7 separate regions of the Homo sapiens genome follow, and all the other regions are linked to region 1. The links are contacts of gene promoters, found by promoter capture Hi-C in blood cells and fetal thymus (Javierre and others, 2016). All regions are on one chromosome and are shown on one strand. Each heading gives the region's core, a stretch centred on a gene start or on the middle of the fragment in contact. The rest is flanking DNA. Distances are from core to core; before and after follow the strand shown. Region 1 holds the start of TBX2 (T-box transcription factor 2). Region 2 holds the start of BCAS3 (BCAS3 microtubule associated cell migration factor). Region 3 overlaps BCAS3 (BCAS3 microtubule associated cell migration factor). Region 4 holds the start of MED13 (mediator complex subunit 13). Region 5 overlaps BCAS3 (BCAS3 microtubule associated cell migration factor). Region 6 overlaps BCAS3 (BCAS3 microtubule associated cell migration factor). Region 7 overlaps BCAS3 (BCAS3 microtubule associated cell migration factor).

Region 1 (3,561 bases), core at 475-2,974:
CCCTGTGGTCGGCTGCTCTGCCCTCTCATCACTGCCCGGACGACCCCACCTGTGGTTGTTGCTCCCAGGAGATCCCATTTCTGCCTGTCAGACCCTCTCCTAAACAGCCTCCTTTAGGCCTTGTGCTCAGATCTGGGGACCCTCTTTCTCCCTGATCTGAGATGAAAGCTGATGCCCAGGAGAGAAGTCTAGGCCCTCTAGAAATATTCTCGCTTCTCCTTAATCTCCCCGAAATTCGTTCAGGGGAAATACCCACTTGGGACGGAAGCTCCCAGAAATAAATCTGGAGGGTGTTTGTATTGGGAACTGGGCTACAGAGCCTGATAAGACATCCTGGCCGTGCAGTTCGGGGGAAGAGGGTGAACCCGAGGCCTGGATTCTCGGTGGCTGAGTCGAAGGGTGGAGGGGCCGGGGCTGTGGCTTTCTTCAGGCTTTAAGGCCTGGGGCGGCGGATGCGTCCAGGGCTCGGATGCCCGCGGTGGAGAAAGGGCTCCCAGCCCGGTGAGGCGGAGGGCTCGGCTGACCCGGGGCTCGCTGCCAGGAACCGAGCAACCAGCGTGGGGTTAGCTGGGCCCAGGTCCCACTAGGGGCTTCGGGGTCGGAGCAGAGTCTGAGAGAGGCTGAATTTCCCCCGAGCTCGGAGACGGACCCGGACGCAGAAGAGCGAGAGCGCGGGGCGGAGGAGACCGCCAGGGCCAAGCCGCGGGGCCTCCTCTGCGCTGGGACTCAGAACGGTTGGGGCTATTCTTTAGCAGTATGTTTTCGTTTTATTTCATTCGGAGGATTTTAGCGTTTTTGTTTTAAAAAAAAATCGCTCCGGTGCCAAACGAGAAAAGTCAACTTGGTTGTCCGTGGGAGCGAAGCGTGGCGTCAGGGCCAGAACCTGGAGCCGGGAGCCGGGAGCCGGGAGTCCCCAGCTCTGCTCTGATCCGTGCAGTCCCGTGCCCCAGCCCGCCCGCCCGCCCGCGCGCCTTCCAGCCGGCCGGCAGCCCTACCTCCCGGACTTGGTGATGACCATCTCCGTGCCTAGCTTGTGGAACTGGTCCCACAGCTCCTTGGCCTCCAGCGTCACCTTGGGGTCGTCCTCCACCTCGTCCTCGGGCTCCAGGCTCTTGAGGGAGCGCAGATGCGCGGCGGGCGGGTGCGGGCCCAGTGCCGAGACGTGCAGCCCCGCCTCGGCCGCTGCTGCCGCCGCCGCCGCCGCGGCCGCCGCCCCCGCCAGGCCCGGGTCGGGCAGCGGCTTGGCCAGCGCGCCGGGCGGCAGCGCGAGTGCCGGGAAGAAGGAGGGCTGCGCCGCCGCCAGAAAGGCGGACATGGGGAAGTCGGCGGGCCGTGGCGCGTGGAACGGGTGGTAAGCCATGGCGCTGGCCGCCAGCGCCGGCTCTCTCATCGGGACATCCGGCCCAGGCGCCCGGGGGCCGGGGCCGGGGCCGGGGGCGCGCGGCTCGGACCCCCGGCCCGGGCGGCGGCGCGCGCGGTGGACGGACGACCCGGGTGGCGGGCGCAGCAGCTGCTCCTCGGGGCTTCCCGTCCGGCGCACCGCAAGGGGCACCCGGCTCTGTGCGCGGGGGCGGCGGGGGCTCTGCGCGGGGCCGGGCTGGGCCGGGCTGAGCTGGCCCGCTCCGGCGCCGGGGACCACGCGCGACTGGTTAGATCTTGTCGTGATCTCTGGAAAACTGTGACTATCTCACATGTCCTGCCCAGCTCGGATCCCCTGCGCTAACGAGCCAGGCCCCCCTTGATTGCTGATTTTACGCTTTTTGGACCAATTGTGGGTCTCCGGGGGCGGGGTTTTGACAGCTCAGGCCAAGCTCCGGCCGGGAGGGGGGGCCTGGGAGAAGGTGTCGGAAGCCTCAGCAGTAAGAAAACATGTCAACAGAATAAAATATTAACCAATGACGGGCCGCCGGGCCCCGAGACCCCTCCTCCTGCCCCGGCCCCCACCGCCCGCCCGCGCCTGCGGCTGCCTGCGCCGGACTGGAGAGCGCGGAGGGCCGACCTGACCCGCCGAAAGGGCCTGAGGCGAGGGGAGCCCGGGTCCCGGGGCCTTGGGGAAGGACCCGCAGCCGCACGCCGGCCCCAAGTGCAAAGCATTGACACGACCCCGAGCGGAGAGGGGGCGCCCTCCTTCTCCCGCGCCCAGAGGCCCGGCCGCTCTGGCCCGAGCCCCAGCCTGGCCTCCGACCCAGCTCCGGGTCGTGGCGCCGCCTGGGGGTCCCTGCGCCCCGGAAAGAGACAGCAGGCACTGGAAAGCGAGGCCGGTGGGCGGGCGAGTCGGGAGGCTCGGGCGGCCGAGGTCCGGGAGCGGATCCCAGGTGGCGGGAGCTGGTGAGTGGAGCCATGGCCGAGCCCTGCTGGGGCCGGCGCGGGCGGGAGCGGGACGCGGCCTTGCGCTGGGGAAACGCGGGGACCCCCTACCCGCGCCCGCCTTCACCGGAAGACTCGGAAGGAACCTGGAGTTCTCCGCAGGCCCGGGCCCCGCCCTGAGCTTTCCAGCGGCCGGGAGGAGCGGATCCTCGGGGCCAGGAAGGTGAGCGCACCTTTCGCTGAGCACAGGGCGGCACCGCGCGGGCGGACCCCGGATTCTCCACCCGCGACCCAACGAATTTTCGCCCTATCCGGTACCGGAGACGAAAGTCTCCTTCTTCCGAAATACCGGCTTCCTCTCTTCGCCCTGCCAACCACTTTTTTAGTTTCTTCTCATCTCTCGGAAGCGCACGTCTCCTAAGTTAAGGAGTGCTGAGTAACGCGTGAGGGAGTTGGGGTGTCTGCGAGCACCTGTGATTGAAGCCCCCTCTTCTGTGATCAGTCTTCGTTTTCTGTCTTCCGGCAGCCTCAGTTTCCCCCCCATGAAGTGATGGTGTGTGTGTGTGTGTGTGTGTGTGTGTGTGTGTGTGTGTGTGTGTCGGGCCCCGTGTGGTGCCCTCTGTGCGCAGCGAGAGCTATAACTCAAGGTGTGCACGGGGAGAGTGAAGCGACCACGCACCTGCTTCCAATCGGGCTCGGGCGCGAACACTCAGGCTGATTCCTGAAGGTCGTTTTCTGAAGGAAAAGACAGAGCATGCACTAGCCACGGGTGACATTCCCACCCGTACAACCGCGTGGTGGGCGCGTACATCCAACATTGACCCATGCAGGCGCCCGCCCACTGCGCACACCGGTCGCAGGGCACTTCGTTGTTGAACGTTGGGAGCAGCGTTTGAAGGCCGGATCTCTCCTGGCAGTGCGGATTCGGGACCGGCGGAAGCAGTATGGCCTCTGCGACCGTTATCCCTACTTTTCGGGGCCGACCCCAGGGCCCTCACAACTCCTCATCACCGCATATGTGAGCGCCGCCCCCACAGGGTTTTCTCCACGACCTCGTTCTTGGCTAGGTCGCACCTCTCTTAGTACCTCCTCTCTGGCCAGAACGAATCTTTGACTCCGAGCTGCGCAGTCTACGCAGACGGGGCAGGATCCACTGCAGTTTTCCACAGGCAAATACCTGCTGGCTCCACCTTAGGCGAGATGTGGCCTCTCGGGGAGGGACCCGTTGTGGACACGTTTGCGCAGCCGGTGAGG
Region 2 (3,561 bases), core at 562-3,061, 720 kb after region 1:
CCATAAAGCCAACAGTTAAAAGATTTTTACAAAAGTAACCACTGTTCATAAAGAAAACCTAAATGTTAGTATTCTGAGTAATCTTTTCTTCAGCTATTGGGTTTATCTGAAATGTGCTTACGTGACAGCCTGGGGGCGAACCACAACTCCACCAGTACAACGACTGGGTCTTCTTGGGGAATCTGTAGCCATAGCTTCATTCATAAAACCTGTTTCCAGAACAAACAAACAAACAAAAAACAGAAAAACATGGATCGTTGTTGGGGGTAGGGAGGAAGATTTATGATTACTCACTAGAGATCCCTTGTCAAAAATGCCTCAAATGTAGGAAACTTTCCCAGAAATTCCTGTTACACCAGAAAGGGAAAAAAGGAGGAAGTAGGTTTTTAATTTTTTTCAAATTATAATGAGGGGTTTGGGGGGTTATTATTATTTTTGAGATAGAGTCTCGCTCTGTCGCCCAGGCTGGAGTTCAGTGGCACGATCTCTGCTCATGGCAATCTCCGCCTCCCAGGCTCAAGCAATTCTCCTGCCTCAGCCTCCTGAGTAGCTGGGATTACAGGCGAGCGCCACCATGCCGAGCTAAATTTTATATTTTTTTGTAGCGACGGGGTTTCACCATGTTGCCAAGGCTGGTCTCGAACTCCTGAGCTCAAGCAATCCATCCGCCTTAGCCTCCCAAAGTGCTGGGATTATAGGCTTGAGCCACCGCGCCCATCCTGTTTTGTTTTTTAATAGGACCAGGTCTCAGAACCACAAAACAATGTAAGGAAGACTCCTGCTGTACCCCTTGGTCTGTTGTTAACATAAATTACAAGGGTGAGAGAACCAGATCATGGGATGGGAATTTACTGCAATTTTATGTTGAGATAGTGAAAATACACATGGTACAATATTTCAAGACCAAACGGAACAAGTGACATGATATCACTCTACCTTCCAATTAAACCTGTTGGGAATCTATGAGTAAATCACAATTTAAATCACATTCGTAACCCCCTGCTACTATAACAAATAAGTCAAGTAATTATTTGACTAGTAGCAAGTAGTCAAATAACTAACATAAACTAATACGTTGTTACAGCCCTTTACCCTTTCCCGTCACATCAGTAAATCCTGATCCTAGAATGTTTCATGACCCTCTGAATCACTGAGATTTTAAGAGCATGGAGTCGGCTTGGTTAAGGTTAAAAGAGGACTGACAGCAATATCAAAGATCTCTTACAGGGCTCAGGGAAGCCCACAACCTGGAACTCATCTTGAAGGCACCGAAAACCATTTTTAAGTAGGGAGCATTCACACCTGATGTGAAAACTCTAAACCTGTGCGCCCCACCTCCTACAACCAAAACACCCTCTGCCCCAAGGAGCAGAGCCACCACCTCCTCAGAGGATACCTGCACCTCCAGCCCCTCAGCCCTCTCATTCTCATCCCATTCTTGCTTTCTCGAACCACAGTCTCCCAAGCCCTGCCCTTTAAGGGCCCTGTCTCCTGGGGACGACCCTCGCCAGCCACTCAGGCCCCAGTCTCCTGAAAGACACTCGTACGGCGCTGCCCACTTAACCTCCAACACGGAGCCACCGCTGCCCCCGGCCGCCCTCCGGCCCCTTGCACTGTTCCCCTCCCCCTCCAGTATCGACACCTCTCTCCTGTCGAATTCCTGCCAGCCCGACCCAGTCCCCTCACGCCGCCAGTCCCTCGTCCTCCCCAAGCCTCCCCAAAGCCAAAGCCCTGCCAGCCCTCTCACCGGCCGCCCCGCCGGTTAACGCTAGTCTCCAGCTCTAGGCTCACTGTTTGGAGTCTCCCCGAGTGATTGACGGCAGCCACTTCCTACCACGCCTCAGCGGAACCACCCCCTCTAGCCAATCCCAGAAGCAAACCGGCTATGGCCGGGCACCGCCCTTGGAGGTCAGCTTCGCCAACCAGCAAGTAGGAAAGAGGCGGACCCGCCTTCTGAATGTGTCCAATCCGCTGGGGCTGGAGGGAAAACACAACAGCATGTAAGTTCGGGTGAAGCCGAGGTGTCAGGTTCGGTTGCAAACGCAGGCAGCTGGGGAATAATTACGAACATGTACATTTTTTTTGGAAGACAGAACCTTCGTGGCTTTGAAAAGAAAAGCAACATGATCCAGACTCCTGTCCCGCTCACGTGAGCGTTTCAGGTTGGAGCCGGAGGACAGGGAGACTGGTCTGTTTACATCGAATTCTCGCGACAGCTGGTTCCAAGCTCGGAGCACGTGGACATGGCAGCTGCCAATCACTTTTAGCTGGCCACTCACCCGTCCCACACCCGCCTTCTGCCCAGCCCTTGGCGATGTGTTTACCTTCCGGGAGCCTAGGCTGGCTCGCGCCGGCGATCAGCCGAGGAGGGGTTGATCTGAATAAGGGGCACGGCCGGTAATCTCAACAATTTGAGCTAGGTTTGTAGACCACTTCTTGCTTCAGTTTCCATCTCCCTTATTGTTGAAGATCGAGATCTCGCCATTGTCATTTCATCAGTTCATTTATTAATATAAGTAGAATAATACTGACTGACTTCTTGAACACTCAGCACAGGCCTTCGTATACTTCATATACAATACTCTAATGTATTATCAAATTTAATGCCAATGACAGGTCCGTGAGGGTATAGCTTATTAACAGGCGTGGTGGGCTGGGCGTGGTGGCTCACGCCTGCAATCCCAACATTTTGGGAAGCCTAGGCGGGAAGATCGCTTGAGGCCAGGAGTTCTAGAACAGCCTGGACAACATGAAGAAACCCCGTCTCTACTAAAAATAGCCAGGTGTGGTGGCCAATGCCTGTAATCCTAGCTACTGGGGAGGCTGAGGCGGAAGAATTGCTTGAACCCAGGAGGCGGAGATTGCAGTGAGCCTATAGATCACGCCATTGCCCTCCAGCACTTTAGCCTGGGTGACAGAGAGTCCCTCTCAAGACAGATAGATAGATAGATAGATAGATAGATAGATAGATAGATAGATACATACATACATACATACATACATACATACATACATACATACATAAAATTTTAAAAAATTTTAAAAAAAGAAATGAAAGAAAAGGCCGGGCACGGTGGCTCACACCTGTAATCCCAGCACTTTGGGAGGCTGAGAGGGGCAGATCACTTGAGGTCAGGAGGTCAAGACCAGCCTTGCCAACTTTGTGAAACTCTGTCTCTACTAAAAATACAAAAATCAGCGGGTTTTGATGGTGCACGCCTGTAATCCCAACTACTCAGGAGGCTGAGGCAGGAGAATCGCTTGAATCCGAGATGTGAAGGTTGCAGTGAGCCGAGATCGTGCAACTGCACTCCAGCCTCTGGGCGACAGAGCAAAACTCTCGCTCAAAAAAAAAAAAAGAAGAAGAAGAAGAAGAAGAATATATTTGGAAATATTGAAATAACTTGATAATGTGGGATTGAAATAACTTGATAATGTGGAATTGTAACATTGAAAAGGAGGCCTAGCATGACTAACTCCATTTTGCTCCTAAACTCCCCACTCCCACCCATCGGTGATATCTAAGTTAACTGCTTTTGCTTATCTCTGCACATAGACTAA
Region 3 (3,561 bases), core at 674-3,173, 690 kb after region 1:
TACCGCTTGAGCCCAGGAGTCTGAGACCAGCCTGGGCAACATGGCGAAACCCCATCTCTACAAAAAATACAAAAATTGGCCGGGCGTGGTGGCTCACACCTGTAATCCCAGCACTTTGGGAGGCGGAGACAGGCAGATCACCTGAGGTCGGGAATTCGAGACCAGCCTGACCAACATGGAGAAACCCGGTCTCTACTGAGAATACAAAATTAGCCGGGCATGGTGGTGCGTATGCCTGTAATCCCAGCTACACGGGAGGCTGCAGCAGGAGAATGGCTTGAACCCAGGAGGCAGAGGTTGAGGTAAGCCGAGATCAAGCCATTGCACTCCAGCCTGGGCAACAAGAGCAAAACTCTGTCTCAAAAAAATAATAATAATAATACAAAAATTAGCTGGGCTTGGTGAAAAGCACCTGCAGTCTCAGTTGCTGGGGAGACTGAAATGGGAAGATAGCTTGAGCCCGGGAGGTCAAGGATGCAGTATGGTGTGATCATACCACTGCACTCCACTCCAGCCTGGGTGACAGAGTGAGACCCTGTCTCCACCAAAAAAAAAAAAAAAAAAAAGTATAGTGTAAGTTTTTGGGGTTGTTTTGTTTTGTTTTGTTTTTTGAGACAGAGTCTTGCTCTGTTGTCCAGGCTGGAATACAGTGGCACAATCTCAGCTCACTGTAGTCTCCACCACGCCTGGCTAATTTTTGTATATTTAGTAGAGATGGGGTTTTGTCATGTTGTCCCAGCTGGTCTTGAGTGCCTGGCCTCAAGAGATCCATCCGCCTCGGCCTTCCAAATTGCTGGGAGGGAATAAAGGCATGAGCCACCATGTATAACTTTTGACTCACCCAAAAACTTAACTGCTAATAGCTTACTGCTGGCCAGAAGGCTTACTGTTAAAATAAAGTCAATTAACATATATTTTGTATATGTTTTATATACTGTATTCTTCGAATATACAGAAGAGAAAATATCCATTAATGGAAGTGGATCATCAAAAAAAGTCTGCATCCTGCTGGGTGCGGTAGCTCAGGCCTGTAATCCCAGCACTTTAGGAGGCTGAGGAGGGTAGATCACCTGAGTTCAGGAGTTCCAGACCAGCCTGGCCAGCATGGTGAAACCCCATCTCTACTAAAAATACAAAAAATTAGCCGGGCGTGGTGGTGGGTGCCTGTAATCCCAGCTACTCGGGAGGCTGAAGCAGAAGAATTGCTTGAACCCAAGAGGTGGAGGTTACAGTGAGCCGAGATCACACCACTGCACTCCAGCCTGGGCAACAACAGCGAAACTCCATCTCCATAAAAAAAAAGTCTTCATCCTTGTCTTCACAGTGAGTAGGCTGAGGAAGAGGAAGAACAGGAGGGGTCGGTCATCTCCCTCAGGGGTAACAGAGGCAGAGGAGATGGAGGAGGTGGAAGGGAGGGCAATAGAGGCAGGCACACTCAGTATAACTTTATGGAAATATACTGTACTTCCTCTCTGACATTTTTGCAAATTTCTCTAAAAATGTTTCTATACAGTACCAATCCTTCTTCCATCATTTGCTTTCATTTCAGTGCCAGTATTATAGAAAGATCTATGTCTAAAAGAAGCCAAAAGCAGTCTTAAATAATTGGAAGCTTTCTGGCAGACTGTCTAACATCAGTCTTCTGGCACTGTTTCCTCTACATCTTCTTCCTCATCATCTGGCACTGGTTTGGAAGCACTGAGCTCCATCAAGCTGTCTTCTCTTAACTTCTCTGGTGTGGTGTCTTAGTTCTTGAATTTCTCCAAAACAGATATCTTGAAATGCTTCACATCTCATCTTTTTTGCCATATCTACAACTTCTTTCATGATTTTCTTTTCTTTTTTTTTTTTTTTTTTGAGACAAGTCTCACTCTGTCACCCAAGCTGGAATACAGTGGCATGATCTCAGCTCACTGAAACTCCGCCTCCCAGGCTCAAGCGATTCTCATGCCTCAGCCTCCCAAGTAGCTGGGATTACAGGCGCCACCACATCTGGATAATTTTTGTATTTTTAGTAGAGACAGGGTTTCGCCATGTTGGCCAGGCTGGTCTCGAACTCCTGACCTAAGGTGATCTGCCGTCCTGGGTCTCCCAAAGTGCTGGGATTACAGGGATGAGCCACCATGCCCGGCCCTCTTTCATGACTTTCTTGATGGTATCTATCGTAAATCCTGTAAGTCATGCAAAACATTTGGACAGTTTTCCCCAGCAGGAATTTATTGTTTCAAGCTTGCTGACTTTCATGGTTATTTCTGTAACATTGATGGCACCTTCAATGGTGTGATCCTTCCACACTTTCCTGATGTTCTATCAGGGTTCTCTTTCACAGAGTTGACAATCCTTTCCATAGAGTATCATGTGTGGTGAGCCTTAAAAGGTCCATGTGGCCCTTTGATCTAGAGGCCCAACAACAAGATAGAGACACCGTGTCTGGGGGCAAGTAGACCACTTCCATACTTTTGGGGTTGAATTCATGACATTTCTGGTGGCCATGGGCACTGTGCAATATCAATAAAACTTTTTTTTTTTTTTGAGACTGAGTCTCACTCTGTCTCCCAGGCTGGAGTGCAGTGGCACAATCTCAGCTAACTGTAACCTCTGCCTCCCTGGTCCAAGCGATTCTCCTGCCTCAGCCTCCTGAGTAGCTGGGATTATAGGCACGCACCACCATGCCCGGCTAATTTTTGTACTAGTAGAGATGGGGTATCACCATGTTGGCCAGGCTGGTCTCGAACTCCTGACCTCAAGTGATCCACCCACCTCGGCCCCCCAAAGTGCTGGGATTACAGGCGTGAAGCACTGCACCCAGCCTCAAAAAAAACTTTAAAAGGCAGTCTCTTACTGGCCAGGTACTTCCTGACTTTGGGAACAAGCATCAATGGAGTCAATCCAGAAAAAGGGTTCCCACTGTCTAGGTCTTCTTGTTATACAATGAAAAGACTAGCAGCTGCTGTTTATCTTTTCCCTCCAAGGCTCAGGGGTTAGCAGCATTATAGATAAGGACAGTCCTGATTATAAACTTGACTGTATTTGCACAAAACAATAGAGTTAGTCTATCCCTTCCTGGCGTTAATTCCGGGTGTGCACTTCTCTTCCTTACTAATAAATGTCTTTTGTGGCATTTTTTTCCCAGAATAGGGCACTTCTCTCAGCATTAAAAAACTCGTTCAGGCAGATAACCTTTCTCCTCAATGATTTTCTTAATGGTATCTGGGAACTCCCCTGCTGCCTCTTGGTCGGCAGAAGTTGCTTCTTTTTATCTTGACATTTTTTAAACCAAACTTCTTTCTACAATTATCAAACCACCCTTTTCTGGCATTAAATTCTCCAGTTTTAGATTTTTCACCTTCCTTTTGCTTTAAGTTGTCATATAATGACTTCGCTTTTTCTCAAATCATATTAGAGTCTATAGTAAGTCTTTCTTTTTTTTTTCTTTTTTTCTTTTTTTTTTTTGAGACGGTGTCTGTCTTCGTTGCCCAGGCGGCTGGAGTGCAGCGGCATGATCTCGGCTCACTACAAGCTCCGCCTCTCGGGTTCACGCCATTCTCCTGCCTCAGCCTC
Region 4 (3,561 bases), core at 375-2,874, 670 kb before region 1:
GAAAGCAGCGGAACAAAGATCTGAGGAGTTTTTCAGGGAACGGGAAATGGGCAGAGGAGCGCTTACCTCATTGGATCTGGGGATTGCTGTCTCCTGGTGCTGGCACTCGGTTATAAAGGATGCCAACCTTAGTTGATTTGAGCTCCTGGATTGAATTAGTCCTGGTTGCATAATTGACTTTGATATGTGGACTTTGGGTTCGAATTAGGTTTAATAAGATTTAACTGCTTCAAAGGGCTTTATAAGAATTCATTTTATCCTTCAAATCTGATTTCAAATGCTACCTACTTTATGACAACTTCTCTAAGTTTGATGCTCTTCTTCTAGTGCACTTACTATGCCATAGTAGGTACATACTTTATTCAAGCAATTACCCCCATTGTATTTTACCTTATTCTGTAGGAAATGTTTCCTTTAGTGCCTCTCTTCAGGAATCTTGAGGGACAGGCAGGTATCTTATTCCTATTTGTATCCTAGGCCTAGCACAGAGCAGGAACACACTCAATTGAGCCAGCAGGTTCTCAATGATTTTTAAAATTACATTAATAATTAACATTAAGTAAGCACTGTGGCAAGCACTGTATCTACATTGTTTCATTCACCAGTCATTTTAGAAGAAAAGTACTTTTATTACCCCCATTTTACAATAACCGAGAGAAAGCAAAATTAATTTGATCTAAGGTCAAATATGATCTAAGACTAACTAGTGAGGGGCAGAACTTTTTCTCCAGGCTTTGGGCTTCAGATCTGGGCTCTTCACCACCACAGATGAACAAGTGGATAAATGAGGACTTCTTTTCATTCCGTGGCTGAAGAAGTGACATGGAAGAGTCTACCATTCATTTTACAGATACAATTATGTATCTGTAATACATAATACATAATTATGTATCTGTAATACATAAAATTACAGTAAGTCCTAACTCACTGATGTTTCTAACTTCTGAATCATCTTTTTCTTCTTCTTTCTTTCTTGCAATCCTAAAACCGTCAGAGAAACTGTTTTGAACTCATATTGAAGTGTAACCCATCCAAGCACTGGGTGTTTTATGGGAAAGAGAATAAACCTTTTGTTTGGTTCTTACTTCTTACCACCCATTCATTTGTAACTATACAAATATCAAGCACCTACTGTGTGCTAGGAACCTTTTTTTAGGCACTAGAGAGACAGAAGTAAACAACAAAAAAATAGTGAGACCTTTACATACACTAGTTCTCCTGCTCGTCACAATAACTATATGAGGTAATGATGACAACAATAATAGTTAACTCTTAACAGTGCTTATCTGTGCGGGGCACTGGGCTACCTGCTTAATTTGTATTAACTCATTACAATAAGCTTGTGGGGTAAGGGATATGTTTTCCCCATTTTACAGATGAGTAAAGACACAGAGCAGGAAGTGATTTGCTCAAGCTTGGAACCCAGGCAGTGTGGCTCTAATTCCCAGTCTATTAACTACAGGGCAATATTTTGTTTCTTAAATTTATATCTTCATATCACAACTTTTAGGTTGAGGAGTCTTATCCCCATCCAGATCATCTGACTCCCAAATCCAGAGGTTTGCACCTGCACCCCAGCGGCCTCGCGAAATAAATGAGAATGTCTTGGAATTTTTGCCAATACTTTCTCTTCCAAAGAACTCAAACTGATTTCCACGTAATTCTCACTGATTTGTGAAATGAACCTTCCTGGACTGTAAATTTCCCCGCAAAGAGAGGGCCAGGGCCCCGGGTCGTTTTATACTGGCCGGGGCACCCAGCAGATGGCGCTATGTTAGTGGCCACCAGCTGGCTGCCCCGTCCCCCGAGCTCACCGCCTCCGCCGAAAGCTTCCCGGCCCTCCCTCGCTCACTTCTCTCTCCCCCTCCCAACCGAGCCCGGGCCCACGTGACCTCAAGGCGGCCAATGGGTGAGCAGAGAGGGCGAGCTGGTCCCTGTGGCCGCCATTAAAGCGAAGGGAAAACCCGTGAATTCGGATTAAAGGGGGAAAAACACCGCCCGCTGGGCCCACAAAATGGGGGAGACTACGGCGTCCAGCCGGTGAGGCCACAGGAGGGCAAACTTTAGGCCGGCTTGGCCCAGGAACGACACGAAGACAGAGCCAGAGAATGGTCTGAGCCCGCAGACGCCGCCACCACCTCCGCCGCTGAGGAGACTCTGGGCTTAAGGACATCGCCGCTGCCGCGCCGGGGGCCTGGGCTTCTCTCCCGGTTCTCGCCCTTCCCGCTCCTGTGCGGGCGCCTCTCCGCCCGGGAGAACCGTCCTGGGCTTGGGCTCTGCCGTCTCGGACTTGATTTTGATTATTTATTGTGTAATTTATTATTTTTCTTGTGGTAGGGGCACACATCCCCTCCGTCCCCCAGAGAGGGACGAGCGTCTGCGGGATCCGCAGTCCGGCCCGCCAGGCGAGCGCGGCGCGGCCCTCCCGCCTCCGGCCCTCGGCCCCGGGCGGCTGGGTGCCGGCCGGGCGGCGGGGGCTGCTCGCGGCGGCGGCGGCGGCGGCGGCGGCGGGGGGGTGGGTGGGGAGGGCGGGCGCCCGGCGGCCTCCTCTTCCACCGCCCCCCCAACCACTACCCCCCCCCCGGCCCTCCCCGGTGTCTGTGTTTCTCTCTCTGGTCGGAGGCGGCGGTAATGGCGGATGGTGGGTTGTGGCGCCGGCGGCGGCTGCTGTGAGGGACGATGAGTGCCTCCTTCGTGCCGAACGGGGCCAGCCTGGAAGATTGTCACTGTAACCTCTTCTGCCTGGTGAGTGCCGGGGCCGGCGGGCGCCGAGGGAGGGGGGCCGCGAGGTGCGCCCTTGGGCCGTGGGGGAGGGGGCCGGGTCTGGTCCAGATGCCCGAGTTCCCGGGCGAGGCCCAGCCGGAGCCGGCGCCCTGCGAAGCTCCGCGGCCAGCCCCGGGAGGCGGCGTTCGCTCTCCTACGGTCCCGGGCTCTGTTTAGGGGAGTGTTGGCATTTTTTCTCGTCTTGTTTCGGACTCTCCTTCTCACCGTAGTCTCGTCCTCAACTTGAGCTCCTTATCTGGCAGGACAGTAACCTTTCCCTCTTGTCTTGCTTAACTGTTGCTTTTCTCCTTATTGGCCCTGTATCCCTGCTTCACACTTTACATTATTGCCCCTGCTCCCCACCGCCTTTATGTCTTACCCTTTTAATTTGGTTTCCCCATGTAAACAGGACCCCAGAACTTAAGCCCTAGAAACCTGTCTTGGTTTTACATTTTTTTTGTATGAGTCAAACTAACGCCAGGTTAGTTTCTTTCTTGGGTGACTTAAGATCTCTCTGTAAAAGCCAGTAGGTGCCATTTCATATGTTTTCTTTTTAAACTTTGAAAACAGTTTGCCATTTTTGACAATTTCTAGCCATCTTGCTTTTATTAGAACATGATGTTTTTGTGAGAGTGAAGGGGGCTAGTGGACGAGGTGCTGTGGTTTTGCACTGTTTCTATATTTATTGTGTTTTGGTTGCTTTTTCAGAATGTTTTGAGCAGGCTGCTCCCTTGTTTGATTGAAATGGAAAGTCGAGAGAAGCGGGATGTAGGGATGATCATTGTGTAGGTTAGCCCA
Region 5 (3,561 bases), core at 477-2,976, 660 kb after region 1:
AAATACTTCTCACTTTACACTTATAATAAATTATAGTATTCTAAAACAAAATCCACCACTCTGTACTATTATTTGCATATGCCAGTTCTAGTATTTAGCTTTTGGTCCTATCAAATAAAACCTTTATGTTAAAGAAGTGTAACCATATTTAAATGAGCTGCTGTACTCAATTATTCAAAAAAAAAGAATAAAACAAATCTGTCTTAGCATACTCACAATATAAAAGTTTGCTATCATTGTATTTAATACACAAGAGCTTATTCTGACATCAAAAAACATTTTGAAACCTGAATATACAACACTTTTCAGCAAAACAGCTTTCAAAACAAACCTAAATGCCCTATTCTAAGCTTGTATCTTAAATCCCTCCTTACACATAAGGCAATGGGTGAGGGGAGGAAAAAAACATTTGGACTGATTTTAAAATGCATCCCCACATTCACTGTCCATTCTTCATTACCTCTATGGTCCTAGGATCTGTGTTTAATTATAACTCGGGGGTGGGGGTTGGGGGGAGCAGAGGAAACATTGTGTCACATTTATAGATATTTCTGAATATATTAAAATCAGGATTGTACAACCTACTGAAATTAGAAGCATAATTCTAAACTATCCTATGTGAGTCACAAAATGTCAAACTTCCTCGAGGAGAGAACTCTCCAAATAGTCTGTGGGAATTCTACATTAGAGTACCATTTCAGAACAGAAACAGAGTTAAGGTTTATACAGATATGATCCATACGTTTTAGAAAGGACACACAGAGGATGGTTAGTCTTTACAGATTCTGCTTTAGCTATCTTTCTGAATAATAATTTTATACATTATGTCCACTGATAATTTTGCCTTCAAATAAGTGCCAAAACTGATTTTTTATAAGGCTGTCAAGAGTGATTTTTTAGGTTTTAAGAAAAGAGCTCATTAAAAATGGCAGAGATAAGGATTTTCTAGATCCTGAAAAGAAGTATACTAAACTGTAAGTTCACTTTTAAACCAACAATAGCAATAAATACAAGAGTAGAACTACAAGGAAAGAGAGTCCAAGCAGTATTCCAACTTCCTGGCAACTGTGGTAACTTGGGGAGAAGAGCGAACAGGGAGAAAGCCTCTCCAACAGCTCCTCATGGTCTCTGCCTTTGTTCTTACTGGCATTTTAATTTCTGATGACAGACTTTTGTTGTTTGGGGCATAAACCGGACGTACCAGTTTGGAGGCACAATAAGGAGAACAAAGAATGATTTGTTCACACTGTAGGAAAAAAAATCTTTTCCAACCATAGAAAATAGCTTTCGCATGGTGAAAATATGCAAATTACATACCAAACCAAAAAAGGGGTGGGGGTAGTACAAGTTTAGAATCTCACAACTCGATCTAAGGCAAAAGGAAATTACAACAGCTAAGACAATAATATACACACAGAAAAGGCTACACAAGTTCTGGGAGAGCTGTAGAAGTGCTTTTAGAGAATTCTGAAAGCAAATGAAGGTTATCTTGCCCTCAGAATCAAACTTATTTCTAAACTTCTGATGACTTTTCATAGACCAATTATAATATAGAAAATTCAAATACCAAAAGACAATAAAAATACTGCTTTATAATGCTGCATTATTAGGACAAGAGTACACATTCACAACCCCACTTTCCCCTATAGATACTGGTTAAATGGATGTTTGTGGTCCACAAATGATTTTTTTTTTTTTTAGCAAACTTTATCAAGAGGTAACAAACACAGAAAAAATACATACATCCTAAGTATATGTATAACATGAATTTTAAATGTTAACGTACCTCTGAACCAAAAGACATCAAGAAACAGAATATTATGGATACTCAGAAGGTCCTGCTACATCTCTTTTCAGTCATAATCCCAACTCAAGAGTGGCCATAACTACAATCCTGATTTCTATTACTTTAAGTTCTACTTGTTCATCTTAATGTAAATGGGTTCCCACAATATGTACCCTTGGGAATGGCTTCTTTCACACATTACTATGCTTATGAAATTAATTCATGTTGTTGCATGGAATTGTAGTTTTATATGTATTGCTATATAGATTTCCATTGTATGAAAATATTACAAATTTTTTTTTTTTTTTTTTGAGAAGGAGTCTCGCTCTGTCACCCAGGCTGGAGTGCAGTGGCGCGATCTTGGCTCACTGCAAGCTCCACCTCCTGGGTTCACGCCATTCTCCTGCCTCAGCCTCCCAAGTAGCTGGGACTACAGGCACGTGCCACCATGCCCGGCTAATTTTTTGTATTTTTAGTAGAGACGGGGTTTCACTGTGTTAGCCAGGATGGTCTCAATCTCCTGACCTCATGATCTGCCCACCTCGGCCTCCCAAAGTGCTGGGATTACAGGCGTGAGCCACCGTGCCTGGCCGAAAATATTACAATTTTATCCATTGTACTACTGTTCATGGACCTCTGAGTTGTTTTTACTTTTTTACTTCTAGTTTTTAGCTCTTAAGATGTCAAGGAGGCCAGGCACAGTAGCTCATGCCTTATAATCCCAACACTTTGGGAGGCCAAGGTGGGTGGAACACTTGAGGTCATGAGTTCGAGACCAGCCTGGCCAACATGGTGAAAAGCTGTCTCTACCAAAAATACAAAAATTAGCCGGGCATGGTGGCACACACCTGTAGTCCCAGCTACTCGGGAGGCTGAGGTGGGAAGATTGCTTGAACCCAGGAGGCGGAAGTTGCAGTGAGCTGAGATTGCACCATTGCACTCCAGCCTAGGCAACAGAGCAAGACTCAGTCTCAAAAAAAAAAAAAAAAAAAAAAAAGATGTCAAGGAAAATTGTGAAAGATTTTGAAATGCTGAATAGATTACTTTGTGTTCTGTGTTTTTTCTATGGATTACCAAGAGCTCTCTAGCAGACCCTTTGGGGTTATCTGATTCTATAGGGGATCCACACTTTGTCTTTGACTGGGCTACTGTACAATACTCTGAGCTGTCAAAAACTGATAGTAATGCAATTGATTCTTGTGCACAGAAATGCAAATGAATTTTGTCTGGTAGAGATACAAGTGAATTCCACTCTGTAGAAAAGATTATTCCAAACAGTACATTTTAGTGCCCAACAGAATATTAACCAAGCTTGTATCTATTAGAAAATTTATTTCAGTATTCCTAATTGCTTCTCTGTGATATTCACCTTCTTCTTGGAACCAGCTATAATAACATCCCAAATCCCTAATCAATGAGTTAAAAAAAATGCAGGATATCTGTCCCTTATATAGTTGTATGAGATCACTGTTTTACCATTTTGAAAACAACATAATAAAGAATATTGATGTAAACATTCTCACAAATGTCTTTTAGTAAACATGTATATGTATTTCTCTTGGATATATATCTAGTAGAGTAACTACTTCTGTATATTAGGGCAGGCACATGTGTATCTTTTGTAGATTTAATTTTCCAATGTGATTGTACCAATTTACACTTCCACCAGCAACGTACAAGAGTTCTATCTGCTCCACATCCTAGCCAATATTTAGTGTCAGCCATTCTGGTAGGTGTCCAAAAATTATGGATTTAAATCAATAGATGCATGGTAA
Region 6 (3,561 bases), core at 379-2,878, 620 kb after region 1:
TCATGCCTGTATTCCCAGCACTTTGGGAGGCCAAGCCAGGCAGATCACCTGAGGTCAAGAGATCAAGACCATCCTGGCCAACATGGTGAAGCCCCATCTCTACTAAAAATAAAAAAAAATTAGCTGTGTGCGGTGGTGCGTACCTGTAGCCCCAGCTACTCTGGAGGCTGAGACAGGTGAATTGCTAGAACCTGAGAGGCAGAGGCTGCAGTGAGCCAAGATCACACCACTGCACTCCAGTCTGGCGACAGAGCAAGACTCCATCTCAAAATAATAATAATAATAATAATAATAATAATAATAATAATAACTTATAAAGACCAACTAACATGTTTTCTGGTCACAACATTTGATCTGAACAGAAGTAACATAGAAAATAGAAAGGGCATGGAATTTTAAATCAGATAGGCATGGATTTCCAAACTGGCTTTCATAATTAATTGGTTTGTAATCTACATTCTGAAGGTCAACTGCCACATCTGCAAACTGGAGATGCTACCTACCTCAAGCATACTAAGTCCTCAAAAAATAGTGGCTGTTATCATAAACTAAGATAAAATGAAGGAATTCTTAAAGTGATGTTTAAAAGTTGGTAAAATAACATAAAATCTTTATAAACTCAATACAGCAGGCAATTATTAAGCAACCATTATTAGGTCTCACACTGTGCTGCAAGCTATTTGAAAGAATGCAACAGATAAACAAAAGTAGTTTTTAAAGTCATATCTCCTCAGTAATAACTGGACTCCTCATATGTGGTCATCCTTAATTTTCAGTCTTCAAGGTAAAATGGCTATGTAGCAGGTATAGGTTTCTTTTGCTTTTGTGAAAGTTAATCTGATTTCTAGCTCAGTTGTTCATCTGGTGTGCTGAATTTCTAGGTGGAGGATGGTGAGGACAATGACAGAAGACAGGAAGAATTTAAAACATGATATTCAAAGAGATAAATGACAGAGAATTTTCCAGAATTATAAAAGAAAGAACCAGAAAGCTTGGTAAGTCTCCAGCAGAATAAAATGAAATTCACACCTAGAAATAGGTCTAGAAGCACATAGCAACTGTTATTAACTAACGTAGGAAAAAATGGAATTATGAAAAATAGGTAAAGAAATACACATAATTGTAAAATTCATTTTTATAAAAATGTCTTTTAAAATTTGTTTTAAGGGGTAGAGGAAAAAACATGGAAATAAGACAAAAACAATAAGAAGAAATGTGATCTGAGTAAGTATAAGGCAGTCTAGGATGAAGAAGAAAAACAAGAAGGAGAAGAAAGAAAAGGTCTCACTCTGTCATCCAGGCTGGAGTACAGTGGCACAATCATAGCTCACTGAAACCTCTGCCTCCTGACTTCAAGAGATTCTCGTGCCTCAGCCTCCCGAGTAATAGAGACTACAGGCATGCACCAACATGCCTGGCTAATTTTTGTATTTTTAGTAGAGATGCAGTTTCACCACGTTGGCCAGGCTGGTCTCAAACTCCTAATCTCAAGTGATCCTTCTACCTTGTCCTCTGTAAGTGCTGGGATTACAGGTGTGAACCACCATGGCCAGCTGGAAAATTCTTTCTTTGAGAAAGATGGCAAAAAAAAAAGGAAAAAAAAGCTGGGCGTAGCGGCTCACACCTGTAATCCCAGTACTTTGGGAGGCTGAGGCGGGGGGATCACTTGAGGTCAGGAGTTCGAGACCAGCCTAGCCAACATGGTGAGACCCCATCTCTACTAAAAATACAAAAATTAGCCAGGCATGGTGGCACGCACCTGTAACCCCAACCTACTCCAGAGGCTGGGGCACAAGAATCGCTTGAACCCAGTAGTTGGAGGCTGCAGTGAGCCGAGATGGTGCCACTGCACTCCAGCCTGGGGGACAGAGTGAGACTCCATCTCAAAAAAAAAGATGGCAAAAAAGACAAAAAATAAAACAGAACCATGGTGGCAAATTACTTTAAAGCGTCAAAATTTAAATATCTGTATGTACATCTAACAAAATATCTACAGATATTCTACAATTAACTTAGGAAAATATGTCAAAAAATGTAAGGCTATGTTAGCCATAACTCAAAGAAGGATAAAAAGGACCTCAGCCTGGAAATTAGAAGGAAGAAAGCTGTGATATAATTTATAATAGGAAGCTCTGCAACACAGCTTAGATACAACTATTTTCCAAACAAATTATCAAAAATTCGTATCAAGAGGTCTATCTTTTACACCAATAAATCTCTGTGTACGACAAGTTACCTAAAGTACTAACATGACAAAAAAGCTTTTTAGGGTTGGGTGTGGTGGCTCATGCCTGTAATCCCAGCACTTTGGGGGGCTAAGGCAGGTGGATCACTTGAGGTCAGCAGTCCAAGATCAGCCTGGCCAACATAGTGAAACCCCGTCTCTATTAAAAATAGATAAATTAGCCAGGCATGGTGGCGGGTGCCTATAATCCAAGCTACTGGGGAGGCTGAGGCAGGAGAATCGCTTGAACCCAGGAGGTGGAGTTTGCAGTAAGACAAGATCACGAGATCGCTCCACCGCACCCCAGTCTGGGCAACAGGGTGACACTGTCTCAAAAAATTAAAAAAAAAAAAAAAAATAGGCAGGGCATGGTGGCTCACGCCTGTAATCCAAGCACTTTGGCAGGCCGAGGTGGGCAGATCACAAGGTCAGGAGTTTGAGACCAGCTTGGCCAATATAGTGAAACCTGTCTCTACTAAAAATACAAAAATTAGCTGGGTGTGGTGGCACGTGCCTGTAGTCCCAGCTACTCGGGGGAGCCGAGGCAGAAGAATCGCTTGAATCCAGGAGGCGGAGCTTGCAGTGAGCCGAGATGGCGCCACTGCACTCCAGCCTAGGCAACAGAGCGAGACTCCATCTCAAAAAAAAAAAAAAATTAAAAATAGTAAAGTTTTTTAGATATTTGAATATTTTCCCAAAAATATTGCAATAGACACCAAGCTCCAGTGATCATATCAGAGCCTTATCTCCTGTTTTTCAAAGGTCTATATATCAAATAGCACCAAGAATATTTCTCAAACAGAATCATACCATTCTTGCATGATTTAGAAAAACTCAGAGAATGGTATAGGTTGAGTACCCCTTATCTGACATGCTTGGGAACAGGAGCATTTCAGGTTTCAGACTTCTTTGGCTTTTGGAATATTTACATATACATAATAAGCTATCTTGATAGGAACCAAGTCTAAACATGAAATTCTGCCGGGCGCGATGGCTCACGCCTGTAATCCCAGTACTTTGGGAGGCCAAGGCGGGTGGATCACCTGAGGTCAGGAGTTCGAGACCAGCCTGACCAACATGGAGAAGCCCTGTCTCTACTAAAAATACAAAATTAGCTAGGCGTTGTGGCACATGCCTGTAATCCCAGCTACTTGGAAGGCTGAGGCAGGAGAATCGCTTGAACCTGGGAGGCGGAGGTTGCAGTGAACTGAGATCACGCCATTGCACTCCAGCCTGGGCAATAAGGGCAAAGCTCCGCCTCAAAAAAAAAAAAAAAAGAAAGAAAATAACTTACGTTTCATATGCACCTTACACATATAGCCTGAAGGTAATTTGAT
Region 7 (3,561 bases), core at 273-2,772, 590 kb after region 1:
GGTAGTTTGGTGGAGAACGTGGAGCAAGTGGTGAAGCTCATGCTGTCCAGTGGGGAGAGTGAGAGGACAGGACTCAGGCTTTTCTGAAGACCAGTCAGGTATGATTTCTATTGTCTGCCTTTTTCTCACTGCCACAACTTCCTGTTTCTTGGCATGTGTCATAATTTTATATTTAAAAATAGACATTTTATATAATACAGTATAACATTACTCTGGATTCTATGAAATCTGTCTTCTTCCACAATTTGCAGTTGCTGATTTCTCTGTTCAGTTTTATTATTTCTTTTATTCTTGCATTACTTTAAAGCCTGACTTTCAGGGTCTGGCCATGCATCTATGTATCTTAGTGGGCAGCCAACTACTCAACAGAGGATTCACTCAAATACCCCAGGTCAACAAAAGTTGTTTTCCTTTGCCAAAGGATCTGCACATCTATTCAGATTTTTCTTCCCCCTGGACCCTTTTTCATGGCTCCTCTGCATATGCATGAAGCCTCAGCTAACCATTATCTTAGGCTGAAAGAGCCAATGGCTCTCAAAGCACACATGTCATCAAGACAGTAATTTCTGCAGATAATGCTGGCAGGCATATGCAATACCTGCCACTCAGAGATGAGCGAAAATTTTCCAAGCACAGCAGGTAAGGTACTAGTCCTCAAAACCTTTCTCACCCTGGAAGACACTCTATAACCAACCAACCAACCAACCAACCCTGGAAGAGGGAAAGTGTGGAGTGGGACAGGAGCAGCTGCAGGCATGAATGCCACAGATTCCCACTGTTATTGTGCAAAGATTAGCAGTTTCTCAAGCTTAAACACTTTTCAGATTATTATATGCTTTTGGTTGAGTTTCAGAGTACTGCAATAGTTGTTTTCATCTGTTTTGCAGATGGCATTAAATCTAAGTCACAAACTCTCTCTTTTTTTTTTTTTTTTTGAGACAGAGTCTCACTGTTGCCCAGGCTGGAGTACAGTGGTGCACTGCAACCTCTGCCTCCCAGGTTCAAGCAATTCTCGTGCCTCAGCCTTCCGGGTAGTTGGGGTTATAGGCACATGCCACCACACTGGGCTAATTTTTGTATTTTTAGTAGAGACAGGGTTTCACCTTGTTGGCAAGGCTGGTCTCAATCTCCTGACCTCAAGTGATCTGCCTGCCTCAGCCTCCCAAAGTGCTGGGATTACAGGCGTGAGTCACCATGCCTGGCCCACAAACTCTTACCATTCTTAAATGTATTTATTTCAGTTTCTCTTCCACTACTATATTATAACCTACCCTGGCAGTCCTTCTCATCTGCTGCAATATTTCCCATTCCTTAAGATCTAACCTATGCTGCTCCTTCTCCATGAGGCTTTTTCTCATTAATTCATGCACACTGATCTCTCCCTTCTCTGCATTCCTGTCATACATCATTATTTCATAATTATTTTGCATGTGTTGTACTTTTTCTTTTCAGCCACATTCATAAGTCTCTGGGGAAAGAAATTAGGCTTTCATGATTTTGTATCCTTATCCTACACCCGGCAAAGTGCTGAGTATACAGTAAATTCTCAAAGGCTTTATGTCTTCTTCAATCGAAAAATTTACACTTGAAGAAATTTGTCTTGTAGCCTATGAAGTCAAACAGTACCATTAGGAAACAATAATCAAGACTCCATGACCTAACCATGTTATATTATTAACATGTTCTTCCTTTCTCCAATGCCACATGATCTGAAGTGCACACTATTTACTGAAAGCATGAGGCCAAGACTGCTAGTAGCCAACCTAATATCCATTTTGATAATTTTCCTTACTAACAAAACCATAATCATTCCTAGCTTTCCTTGCAGCCAGAAGTTCAATTTGAGGGAATGCACTAACTGGAAAGATATTTGTATTTGTTCACAGTATTGTGGTAATAAATAAAAAAGAAAATTCACACAACACCTTTAGAACAGTGTCAGGCACATGCTATAGCATCAATAAATGTCATTTACTGTTGGAAACCCTAAATATGTTTTACTTTCTTCTTCTTCTCTCTTATGAGAGCTTAGTCTTATGGTTACAAAGGTTTTATAACATCAAAGTTCTCCCTCTGGAATAATATAAATTTGTAATAGGTGATACAAAGAATTTTTAAAATTTCCTTACCCAGAAGATCCAATGCTCTTACAAACACCAAGGAGGGGTCTTTTTTCAGCAAAGTTATCACATTTTTGAGCACCTGACAGGAAGGATAAAATAAATTGTAAGCTTTGAGGAATATTATTGTATAATTCCCACTATTTTCATGCTTTCAAAATACTTGAAAAGGAGAAGTATTCATTATAAGTTGACATAATTTATACAATTGAATAAAAAGAAGAAAAGCTACTATATAAAATCATCATATATTATATATATGTAATCATTTTAAAAACTGAACCAGCATTTTTTTTTTTTTTTTGAGACAGAGTCTCGCTCTGTCACCCAGGCTGGAGTGCAGTGGCACGATCGCAGCTCACTGCAACCTCTGCCTCCCGGGTTCAAACAATTCTCCTGCCTCAGCCTTCTGAGTAGCTGGGACTACAGGCACGTACCACCATGCCCGGCTAATTTTTGTATTTTTAGTAGAGACAGGGTTTCGCCATGTTGGTCAGCCTGGTCTCACACTCCTGACCTCAAGTGATCCACCCGCCTCAACCTCCCAAAGTGCTGGGATTACAGGCGAGAGCCACAATGGCCAGCCTGAACTGGCATTTTTTTTAAGTTTCAATTGGCACCAATTTCAATCTTATACACCTTCCCCATGAGATCAGAAAACCATCCCATACCCCACCAACTAATTACCTAAAACTAGTAATAATATTGATGTCGAAACTAAATAAAGGTAGTTCAAGACAAGAAAATTATAAAACTATAGGTCATTCCCATTGATATACATAGTTGCAAAAATCCTAAACAAAATATCAGCAAATTAAATAGCAACATATATGAAAAAAATAAACTCTCATAACTGAATTAGATTTACCTAAGCAACAGTAATAGTTTGGCAGTATAAAATCTATTAATGTAATTAATGATATTAATATTTCAGCAGATGCAGAAAAAGCATTCAATTAGACTCTATACCTAATCATATGAACAAAAAAAAATAACAAAAATATCTTTTTTAACCTAATAATGATCATCTACAAAAGATCTACAGCAAATGTCACAGGTAATGGTTCAGAGTATTCCTATTAACAGCAATAATAATACAAGAATATCCAGAGTTGCTGCTCCCATCAAGTCCTAAGTCCACATAATAATAGTAAGTGAACTCAACAATATTACAGGATACAAAACCAATATAATATGAACAAGAAGCAAAAAAAGTAAAGTCAGGAAATATAAATGGTTCTGAATCATATGAAAAGGTGCTCTGTGCCTGCTCACGCCTGTACTCTCAACACTTTGGGAGGCGGAGGCAGGAGGATCACTTGAGACAGGGCAAAACTCTGTATCTACAAACAATAAAAACAAAAAATTAGTTGGGTATGGTGGCACACTCCTGTAGCCCTAGCTACTCAGGAGGCTGAAGTAGGAGGACCCTCTGAGCCCC

The links. The method cuts DNA at HindIII sites, captures the fragments that hold promoters and counts their contacts. A CHiCAGO score of 5 or more calls a contact.
Region 2: a contact is called between the fragment with the promoter of BCAS3 here and the fragment with the promoter of TBX2 in region 1, in 7 of 17 cell types (total B cells, activated CD4 T cells, total CD4 T cells and 4 more). The highest score is 9.8, in total B cells.
Region 3: a fragment that was not itself captured here is called in contact with the fragment with the promoter of TBX2 in region 1 in 4 of 17 cell types (M0 macrophages, megakaryocytes, endothelial precursors and 1 more); the score reaches 9.9 in M0 macrophages.
Region 4: a fragment that was not itself captured here is called in contact with the fragment with the promoter of TBX2 in region 1 in 2 of 17 cell types (naive CD4 T cells and naive CD8 T cells); the score reaches 6.9 in naive CD4 T cells.
Region 5: a fragment that was not itself captured here is called in contact with the fragment with the promoter of TBX2 in region 1 in 11 of 17 cell types (megakaryocytes, M0 macrophages, M2 macrophages and 8 more); the score reaches 16.2 in megakaryocytes.
Region 6: a fragment that was not itself captured here is called in contact with the fragment with the promoter of TBX2 in region 1 in 1 of 17 cell types (M1 macrophages); the score reaches 6.3 in M1 macrophages.
Region 7: a contact is called between a fragment that was not itself captured here and the fragment with the promoter of TBX2 in region 1, in 1 of 17 cell types (megakaryocytes). The highest score is 5.8, in megakaryocytes.

The regions. Positions count from the first base shown.
Region 1 is chr17:61,398,006-61,401,566 of GRCh38, reverse strand. It overlaps TBX2 (T-box transcription factor 2), which reads right to left and starts at 1,724. Exons shown (of 7, transcript NM_005994.4): 1 at 996-1,724. The coding sequence starts at 1,390. TBX2-AS1 (TBX2 antisense RNA 1) reads left to right here and starts at 1,961. Exons shown (of 2, transcript NR_125751.1): 1 at 1,961-2,328. RefSeq lists a cis regulatory region at 1,640-1,651 and promoters at 1,640-1,887, 1,507-2,767. The HindIII fragment of the contact is 11,976 bases long and covers 1-3,561 here.
Region 2 is chr17:60,676,101-60,679,661 of GRCh38, reverse strand. It overlaps BCAS3 (BCAS3 microtubule associated cell migration factor), which reads right to left and starts at 1,811. Exons shown (of 24, transcript NM_017679.5): 1 at 1,748-1,811; 2 at 122-209. The coding sequence starts at 204. RefSeq lists enhancers at 1,770-1,919, 2,090-2,259 and a silencer at 1,678-2,431. The HindIII fragment of the contact is 12,302 bases long and covers 1-3,561 here.
Region 3 is chr17:60,703,809-60,707,369 of GRCh38, reverse strand. The region is part of intron 4 of BCAS3 (BCAS3 microtubule associated cell migration factor); the gene reads right to left. Among named protein-coding and RNA genes, the nearest start is that of BCAS3, 28 kb to the right of the region's middle. RefSeq lists a silencer at 223-413. The HindIII fragment of the contact is 617 bases long and covers 1,615-2,231 here.
Region 4 is chr17:62,064,324-62,067,884 of GRCh38, reverse strand. It overlaps MED13 (mediator complex subunit 13), which reads left to right and starts at 2,607. Exons shown (of 30, transcript NM_005121.3): 1 at 2,607-2,745. The coding sequence starts at 2,680. RefSeq lists silencers at 1,817-1,896, 2,687-2,966 and enhancers at 1,947-2,206, 3,117-3,216. The HindIII fragment of the contact is 415 bases long and covers 1,417-1,831 here.
Region 5 is chr17:60,741,649-60,745,209 of GRCh38, reverse strand. All of the region lies in intron 5 of BCAS3 (BCAS3 microtubule associated cell migration factor), which reads right to left. Among named protein-coding and RNA genes, the nearest start is that of BCAS3, 66 kb to the right of the region's middle. The HindIII fragment of the contact is 2,747 bases long and covers 353-3,099 here.
Region 6 is chr17:60,779,311-60,782,871 of GRCh38, reverse strand. All of the region lies in intron 6 of BCAS3 (BCAS3 microtubule associated cell migration factor), which reads right to left. Among named protein-coding and RNA genes, the nearest start is that of BCAS3, 100 kb to the right of the region's middle. The HindIII fragment of the contact is 1,270 bases long and covers 994-2,263 here.
Region 7 is chr17:60,806,645-60,810,205 of GRCh38, reverse strand. BCAS3 (BCAS3 microtubule associated cell migration factor) reads right to left here. Exons shown (of 24, transcript NM_017679.5): 7 at 2,130-2,202. It also overlaps the pseudogene KRT18P61. Among named protein-coding and RNA genes, the nearest start is that of BCAS3, 130 kb to the right of the region's middle. The HindIII fragment of the contact is 1,423 bases long and covers 811-2,233 here.